Regions from separate parts of the Homo sapiens genome. Here region 1 is linked to region 2. Evidence: promoter capture Hi-C in human tissues and cell types (Jung and others, 2019). All regions are on one chromosome and are shown on one strand. Each heading gives the region's core, a stretch centred on a gene start or on the middle of the fragment in contact. The rest is flanking DNA. Distances are from core to core; before and after follow the strand shown.

Region 1 (4,630 bases), core at 743-3,242, 410 kb before region 2:
CTACATTTCTCTGCCTTGTTGTTTTATAGAGTATCTAAGAAATTGAAGTAAAGTAGTTTGAGTTTAGTTTGATAAATCTGGGAAAACATCCCCTTATGTTCGATCAATGTTTATATGTTCTGACATTACAATTTGGACATGAAAATGGCAAATTGCTTTAAGGTCAACCTTTACGTTTTACTAATTTCTTGTCCCCTCAGAACATACCACAGTGCCTGGTACATCATAAATATTCAATATGTTTATTTATCAGATAAGTAAAATAATGAATGAACAACTCTTATATTGCATGCTACCTACATATAAAACAAGTAATTCTTTCCTGCAATGTTTGTTTTGGTTGCATTCAATCTGGCTATTTAAAGACAATGTTAAAACTCTGCCACTTACTAGCTGTGGAAACTTGATCAAATCATAGAAAGAGGGTAAGCCCCAATTTTCTCCTCTTTAAAATGGGGACAGTAAACTCTATTTGCAGAATAAATTATGAAAGTTGATGGAAGGTAGTTTTGAAGTTTGTACCTGTTGTGGATTGAATTGTACACTCCCCACAAGAATCGTATGTTGAAGTCCTAACCTAGATTACTACAAAAGGTGACCTCACTCAGAGATAGGATCTTTACAGAGGTGATGAAGTTACAATGAGAATAATATAGTGGGTCCTAATCCAAAGTGCCTCGTGTCCTTACTCAAAGGGAAGTTTGGAAACAGGTGCACACACACACACACACACACGGAGAATGCCACGTGAACATGAAGGCAGAGATTGGAGTGATGCGTCTAGATGCCAAAGAATACCAAAGATTACCCCAAAACCACTAAAAGGTAGGGAAGAAGCATTGAACAGATTCTTCCTCACTGCCTCAAGAACGAATCAACTCTCCTGACACTGGATCTTGGACTCCTAGGCTCCAGAATTGTGAGACAATAAGTATGTTGTTTAAGCCACTTAGTTTGTCACATTTTGTTATAGAAGCTCTAGGAAAGTAACACAATGTCTGATTATGATTATTTCCTGAGTTAGGAACTTATAATCGCCAGGTGCAGTGGCTCAAGCCTGTAATCCCAGCACTTTGGGAGGCCGAGGCGGGAGGATCACTTGAGGTCATGAGTTCGAGATCAGCCTGGCCAACATGGCGAAAACCTGTCTCTACTAAAAATACAAAAATTATCTGGGTGTGGTGGCAGGCGCCAGAAAGCCCAGCTACTGGGGAGGCTGAGGCAGGAGAATCGCTTGAGCCTGGGAGGCAGAGGTTGCGGTCAGCCGAGATCGTGCCATGGCACTCCAGCCTAGGTGATAGAGTGAGACTCGGTCTCAAAAAAAAAAAGTTAAAGTCACCTTCTGGGAGGAAGGAGTTGGCATAGAGCTAAAAGCTTGAGAAGAGAGACTCATTCTACCTGTAGTTACTGGACATCTCCCATGCGTCAGCTACTATGCTTTGTCACCAGAGATATAACCGTGACTAAGAGTCATGGCTACTACCCTCACAGAGCTGATTGCCCAGCAAAGGTTTGAAAGTGCTATGGTGGAGAACAGGTAAAGGAGGCAACTTGGGTTGAGTAAACTAATTGTTAAACCCTACCAAGTTCAAACTGTTGATAGGCACAACCTTTTATGAGTTAGATTTTACCTGCTTCTTTGATTTCATTTTCAACCTTCAATTGATTCCTTCCCCATCACTCCACATATTGTGTACATATATGCTTGTGCACATGTGCACACAGATGCGTGCACACACACACACACACACACACAGAGGTTATGCTGCCACCACACTCACTTGCATTTCCCAAAACTCCGATATTTTTTGTCTCTCACCTTTGTACATTCCATTCTCTCTGCCTGAAAGTCCCCTCTCCCATTTTATTTACTTGGCAGGTTACCAAGTTTTCCGGTGTTCTAAACTCAAGCATTATCCTCACATTTTAAATTTTCTGACCACAGCCTGAGTTAGAGGTGTCCTTCTGCTTCCATAACACCAGACACTCATTATTATACTGGATTGCAATTGGCTGTTGGTTTGTTTGAAACCAGAGGCTGAGTGTTTTTCATCTCTCTCCTTCATGCTAAGCACAGTACCCGGAACAACATAGATATGCAAAGCACATTTCTTGAGTCAAATGAATAATTAATTAATGCAGAAAAATGTCATATGCAAAGATATTCAGCAACCCATACACACATGGCAAAATACCCCTAGAGCTGATTTTTGGTATCACAGGCACCTGTTCCCTGATCCTGTCTCACTCTGTCCTGCAGTCTTCTGCACCCACCCTCCACATCTTCATCCACCACAAAGGTACCTCTCACCATTAGCCCAGCTTGCCATCAGGTGCTGAATGTGTGTCTCCACCCTTCATCATTCACTAGGAAGCCTCTGGAATGCTAGCATTTATCTTCTGAAAAGTTGCCAAGCACAACAGTAAAGCTGTGTGGTATTTTTCAACTGTGCAACTTTAACATGTCTCAAGGAGGCTCTGAAAAAGTCATAAAGTATTAAGTCCCTCCTTAGTGGCATTTCAATCCTTTTGGAAATAAGTAAATGTGTAAAAATAAAAGGAAAATAAAGTCTGTTGAAAGATTTCAATTGTTTTCTTTGTTCTTAAAAATTTATTTTATTTTACTTTTAATTGACAAATAATTGTAGATATGTATGATTATAGTGTGATTGTTTTGATATATGTATATATTATACCACCACATATCTTCAGTGGTAGATACAAACAAGTACTTCCTAAAACAGTCATGCAAGAATTAAGAACCATAAATCCTAATGTTTTACTCTGCCTCCTCATTGGATTGTGACTTGGCTTTAATCTCTTACATTTAGAAAATTTGGATTTTCTCCTGTTTATAAAATAATTCAGGTATTTCTCCTACAATGCATGTTCACCTCTGTAAAATTGGACACTAAAAATAAGAGAGCTTATGGAAAGAATAGAATTGGGACAAATTCCTCATAAGCTATGGAATTTTGCAACCAAGACACTAATGAGAATAATTAACCCTCCTAATAGAAATACCAGCATTGTTAAATCTCTCTTTGTATTTATGTCCAATCAGTTAATCTTCGCAATTTTAACTCCTGGTTCTGGTGATTTCCCTTTGAAGGAGAGATCCTAGAGGACACTCTCTTCTAGTAGATTATTTAACAAATATTAGAAATCTTATCCAGAGTGTACCTTTTTTTTTTAATAGAAGGGAAATGTCATTGCAGCTTTGTTATCTGCAGTAACAGTTTACCCAAGAAGCTTGGCATAGTAGAAAGGGTAGCAATTCTTGAAGCCACTAACCTAGTCTCCACCTGCAGTTCTGTAGATTTCCAGAGTTAATTCACAGATTGCTAAGGCTCTTTCTTTAGTTGTAAGAAAGCCTACTCTGACCACTTTAAAACATTAACCTGCTGGAAAAAAAATTATACATGAACTAAGACACAACTGCTGTGTTATGTAGACATTATTCTCCTATTATCTCCTATTTGCACAAGGGAAGCAGTATCAATGAAACAGCTTTAAAGTAGAACAGATTGTAGTTCTAAATACTTACTTAGTTTATGAACAAAATAATTAACATGGCTTAATAAGATCATGTCAGAAAACTCTTTAAATTCCATGAGACAAATCTACTATGCAGCAATCAGTATCTCTTTGGAGCCTCACAAATAACAATTGCTACAATCACTTCCACTTTCACATTTAAAGGAAATGTATTTTTAGCTAGGGCAACTCCTACCTTGGCTACCTTCCCAGAAAGTTGTGTGTGAAATATATTGAGGCAAAAACAATGAAGACTTGGTCAATTTTTGCTGTTGAAGTTCTTTTGGGCTTTTCCAACAGATACCTTACTAACCAAATGATTTGGAGGACACAGTTCTAAATTCTGCAGCTCAAAATGCTTCCATTGTAGTATGTCATTTTATTTCCCTCTGGAATAAGGACATTTAAGTACCATTGGAAAGGAACTGTGCTGAATCTGGCATAAATATAAGTCATCTCTTCCTAAGCCTACCAACTCGACTCAAAAACTGTTGAAATATAAGCAAGAATGATACTGGAGTGCATTGGTACAAAATGAAAAGAAGTGTTTCATTACAGCAGGGATACTTTTAATTTTGCGTTTTAGTCTGAAACTAGGTTACGCTTCTGGAAATTGGATGATAACTTTATGTAGTATTCTTCTGTGAGGCTACTGTTTCAGAATAGGTATTTAGCATTTTTACCCTTCTGCGTTGATCCTAGGTGAGTTTCTATAATATTAGATATATGTACTCACAATTCATCTACTCATAGAGTTACAGATGTGCAGAATGTTAGAATAGATTGGATCTTAGAGGTCAGTTAGATCATCTGTAGCTTCCTTTCATAGGCCACAACATTAAGAGTCACACGGAAAAAATGAATGGTGGGATATTATAATATTTCTTACAATATTTTCTGGGTTTTTTGAGGGGTAAGGGTGGGAAGAAACTATTATCAGCTGGCTAAAAGGAGAGTGATAATGTGTGGTTTTCTCGTGTGTATATTAAAGCTTATGAATAAAACTACTAGGTATAAGAACTTACCCAACACGCAGTGAACCTCAAAGGAGATGGTTGCCCATCTGGTTTCAATTTGATTAAGTTTATGTTCT
Region 2 (5,033 bases), core at 1,508-4,007:
AAATCAATTTTATTGGCATTTAGAAAAAACAGAATTTTTAAAAAATTGACACTTTTTTGGAGAAAATATTTTGTATAATGAGTTTCAGACTCAATTTTTAAGAGTTTCTGATATTTATTCCATTCTTTTGGGGAAAAAAATGGACCTAAATCATTTTCCTTACGCTAAGTGTTAAATGAAAATCACTTACAAACCTTCTACTTTTGTAATCAAATTGCAGGACAAATTTAATGTGCACAGTTTTGTCAGTGTGTTTAGTCCTTCAATTCTACTTATTTGATTAGATGACAGATCTAGATGTTGTAAATTCCAAATATGATCAATGGCTTCGATCTTGGAGATGTTATTGCAATGAAGATTGACGGCATGAAGAGTTGAATCTAAAGATAATTCTGATATGCTATAAAAGAAAATATATACTATAAAAATAGATTTTAAAAGCATGACCAAATAACTAAAATTAACCAAACAGCACGTAGATACTAAATATGTGCTCTATTCATTCTAGAATGAAATCTTTCCTATTTGTGGTACCTTTGAAATGTCTCACAAAACACGGTGCTTCTTACAACACAACCAAGTATTTTGGATTATTTATACAAACAAGAAACCGCTCAAGGCAGGCAAGTGACAGTGGGCATTTCTAACTCCTGTGTGCAGTCATCAGCATATATTGAAGGCAGTGCTGAATAGTAGTCAATAACTGTAAAGGCTTTGGAATGTTAATATCCCAGTTTGAATCTGCATTCTATCACGGTTTTGCTGTGTGATTTGAGCAAATGACAACCTGAGCCTCAGTTTTCTTACCTCAATTAATTCTCACAATAACTCTAAGCAGTGGGTATCTTAAGGATACCTAAATTTATGGAAATTAAATAGCTTGCCCAAATTCTTGCAGCTAACAGAGCATATGTAAATCCAGATCTCATGCTGGAGATTATAACTTTATTTTCTTCTTTGTGTGCAATAGCTATTTAATCCACAGTCTATTGCATTTTCAAAAACAAACCATGTTATTGCAATTCCTATTGAAAAAGTCCCTGTCCTCCCTTGTTGAAAGTTAATGGATCTCCCCTAAACAGAACTCATCTCTTCACTCCAATTACTATTTATAACTGAAGCTTCTCCTGAAGATAGTAGTTCCAGGAACACAAACTACAGCATACACAGTTTGGAGTTGCTAGATGGGAGATACACCCAGGAACACACAATGTCACGGGCATCTGCTGTAGGTTGAGTAGCAGCTATCTTACAGCTGTAGGAAACCTAACTCTGACAGCAGGGAAGCATTTGCAAATTTCAAACTAGCAACCTTTAAATGTGACTATCTGGGGCATTTCCCACTTATCCTGCTGTGTCATTTACTTGAGTTCTTATTTAGTGCCAGACCTTATGCTGTTAACACATGCTCTTAATGACAGTCATTTACTTTCTGACACATTTCAGTTTCTCGACATTAATAATGTGCAGATAATGTGAGATAGAAAAAGCATAGTGAAATTAGACGGAAAATGGGTTTGAATCCGAACTTAATTCTTCATGAAGTGTATAAAGATGAACAAATTGTCAATAGATTCTGAGTCTCATTCATCACTTGTAAATGAGAAAAATTACTACCTTGTAGAATTGCTGTGAGGATTACTGATAATGTATATAACATGCACACAACAGATAGCATTCAGTAAATGGCAGCTAGTATTAAATAGAAATGTAAAATGTCCCTTGAACAGCATCTTCTTGGGATCATCTGGCAAAGTTTAAATCAGAATCCAGAACAAGATGCTTAATTATCAGTAGCAGAGTTCGCGTAGAGGACACGCTACAAAGGAACAGCATGTGCAAAGGCACAGAGAAGTCTGCTATGGAATTGCCTGTAGCTCAGTACAGGTAAATAAAGTGTAAGTGGAGAAATGTTACGGGTCGAGACTAAAGAGCCTGAAATGCAGGTGGAGACCTGCTTTACAGTATTACAGAACCAAGTGCCTCATATGCTTTGCACAAGTCAGGGCTTCAAGAGAGAGGGAAACGATGAACTAAATATAGTAAGTTTAGTACTTTCAAAAAGTATATGAATATATGTATTGCAATGTTCTGTAACGGACAAATGATTTCGAATGCAGACAAGGAGAACTGAGGCAAAACTAACAGGCAGCAGCGACTGCCCGCTCATAGCTGCCAGAGATACTATCCTGCAGGTTTTTTTCAGAGGTAAGAACAGGAAAGACGAGAGAACACGAGAAAACCAGCAATTAAACGGCAAGCAAAGGAATAACCACCAGTAAGTAAGGAAAACCAGCAGAAGGAAAGAGTGGTCAGAAGCTGGTGGAGGACAAGGTCCTGGGGCAGTTTCTAGGCTAAGCAGAGTCGTGTGAAACGCTGGGCAGGAGACACGGGCGGGAAGGCATCCACGGCTCATTCAACCTGGCACTTCGGCAGGTAAGTTTTGGAGGAGCGGGGAGGCCGAAAGCCAGACTGCGTTCACTTATGGTCTTGGTAAAGCAGTGCCGCGCCTCCACTCTGGTGTCGCCGCCAGCCACTCGTGGCCCCGGCTCTGGGGAGTGCGCGGGTCGCTCCTGGCTGCGGAGCGCCCTTTACCTCTGCAAGCCTTTGTCCATGAAGCATACATCCCCGCAGCTGCTGTCGCCGTCTTCGTTTTCCACTTCCGCCTCTGCCGCCACCACCGCCGCCGCCGCCTCCATAGCACTGGCGACGGGGAGCGGGGTCTTAACCGGCACCCAGCGAGGGGTCCGTGAGCTTGGGACAAGCCTCCCGGAAGCGCGGAAGGGCGGCCCGAGGGGGCGGGGCGGGGCGAGGACCCACCCTCCAACCGACAGCCGGGAACTTTCCCGCCTTGACGGTGACGCAAAACTGGAATCCTCGTCCCAACTGTGGGCTTCTTTCGTTTTTACAGCATCTGCGGTGCGACTCTTGAACTTGCTGTAAAGTAAAACTGCTTCCCGGGCGTGTAGGAGCTGGAGAATGAATGGATTTGTCCTGTGTGCTTCTGTATATTTGCCTAGTAGCCGACTGACTTCTGAAGGCGGTTTTCACAGCGGTTTGGCTTTACGTGCCTTTACATAGCCTTACATACGTATAAATTGTTCCTCTGGCCATTGCACCTCCTGTTGATTCATTGAACAATTTGTGGGATGCCTTACTGTATGTCAGTCACTTCCCTGTATGAGGAAGAAAAAGATGAAGCCTATTCTTGTTCCTGGAAACATTCGCAGCCCCATAGAGGAAACAGAATTGCCATACAGTATGACGAATGCTAAGAATAACACAAGGGCATCGAAACCAACTCTAGAGTGATATGGGTAGTGGGTACGTTTTCTAAAAGAAGTGATTGATGACTGAATAGAGTCTTGCTGGGTTAGGGGGAGTTCTGGATGAATGGCATTACAGGTGGGAAAGCAATACCTGTGTGAGGTCAAATAACCCTCCTGGCTAGATTGCTTCCTAAGGCATAGTAATATTTTAAAACGGAGCAAATGGTGCAGTAGTCCATTTGAAGTGGACTATTTCCTTTTGAAATAACTCATATAGACAAAAATAAAAAAGATGTTTTAAAAAATGAGCAAAACCCACATGACATGTAGGACACCATAAAGTGACCAAATATTCAAAATTTTGGAGTCTCAGAAGGCAAAGAGAAAACAATAGAGTTGGAAAAATGGTTCAACAAAATACTATATGAAAACTTCCCAAGTCTAGCAAGAGATTTAGACACCCAGGCACAGGAGGCCAAAGGTTCCCAAACAGATACAATGCAAAAAGGTTTTCTTTTAAAAAAAATTTCATCTCACTTTTTATTTTAGATTCGGGGGTACATGTGCAGGTTTGTTACATAAGTATATTGCACGATGCTGAGGTTGTGGCTTCTAATGATCCTGTAACCCAAATAGTAAATATAGCGCTTGATAGGTAGTTATTCAACTCTTGCCTTCCCCCTTTTGGAGTCCCCAGTGTCTATTGTTCCCATCTTTGTGTTCATGTGTATCCAGTGTTTAGCTGCCACTTGGAAGTGAGAACATATGGTATTTGGTTTTCTGTTTCTGTGTTAATTCACTTAGGATAATGACCTTCAGCTGCATCCATATTGCTGCAAAGGACATGATTTTGTTCTTTTTTATGGCTGCATGTTGGTGTATATGTGCCACATTTTCTTTATCCAGTCTATCATTGATGGGCATCAGGGCTCATTCCATGCCTTTGCTACTGTGCTGCAATAAACATATGAATGCGGGTGTCTTTTTGGTAAAACAATTTATTTTTCTTTGGCTAGATACCTGGTCATGGGATTCCTGGATTGAACGGTAATTCTATTTTTAGTTCTTTGTGAAATCTCCAAACTGCTTTCCACAGTGGCTGCAATTTGCATTCCCACTGATGGTGTGTAAGCATTACTTTTTCTCTGCAACCTCACTAACATCTCATATTTTCTGACTTTTTAATAAAACCCACTCTGACTGCTGTGAGATGATATCTTATTATAGTTTTGATTTACATCTCTCTGATTATTAGTGATGTTGAGCATTTAAAAATATGTTTCTTGGCTGCTTGCATGTCTTCTTTCGCAAAAAAGAAAAGAAAAGAAAAAGTCTCCTTTATGGCCCATTGTAGTCAAACTGATAAAAGTCAAAGACAAAGAATTCTAAAAACAGCAAGAGAAAAACATCTAGTCATTTATAAGGGAACCCTCAACAAACTAACAGTGGATTTCTCACCAAAAACTTTACAAGCCGGCAGAGAATGGTATGATAAATTCAAAGTGCTGAAAGAAAAAACAGCCAGCCAAGTACTCAACAAAGTTATCCTTCATAAACCAAGGAAAAATAAAGTCTTTCCAAGATAAGCAAAAGCAAAAGAATTCATCACCAGTCGACTGGACCTATAAAAATGCTCATGAGAGTCTTACATATGGAAACAAAAGGACAATATTTACCAGCATGAAAACACACAAAAATATAAAGTCCACTGGTAGATCAAACACACAAGAAAGAGAAAGGACTCAAATGTTACCATTACAGAAA

The links. The method cuts DNA at HindIII sites, captures the fragments that hold promoters and counts their contacts. A contact is called where the count stands out against the background at its distance.
Region 1: a fragment that was not itself captured here is called in contact with the fragment with the promoter of LRRCC1 in region 2 in 1 of the 25 tissues and cell types used here (thymus).

The regions. Positions count from the first base shown.
Region 1 is chr8:85,512,759-85,517,388 of GRCh38, reverse strand. The region is part of intron 3 of LOC105375937 (a long non-coding RNA gene); the gene reads right to left. Among named protein-coding and RNA genes, the nearest start is that of CA3-AS1, 50 kb to the right of the region's middle. The HindIII fragment of the contact is 6,335 bases long and covers 1-4,630 here.
Region 2 is chr8:85,104,962-85,109,994 of GRCh38, reverse strand. It overlaps LRRCC1 (leucine rich repeat and coiled-coil centrosomal protein 1), which reads right to left and starts at 2,757. Exons shown (of 19, transcript NM_033402.5): 1 at 2,596-2,757; 2 at 195-400. The coding sequence starts at 2,699. It overlaps LOC105375933 (a long non-coding RNA gene), which reads left to right and starts at 2,133. Exons shown (of 3, transcript XR_929117.3): 1 at 2,133-2,436. RefSeq lists an enhancer at 2,586-2,645. The HindIII fragment of the contact is 9,097 bases long and covers 1-5,033 here.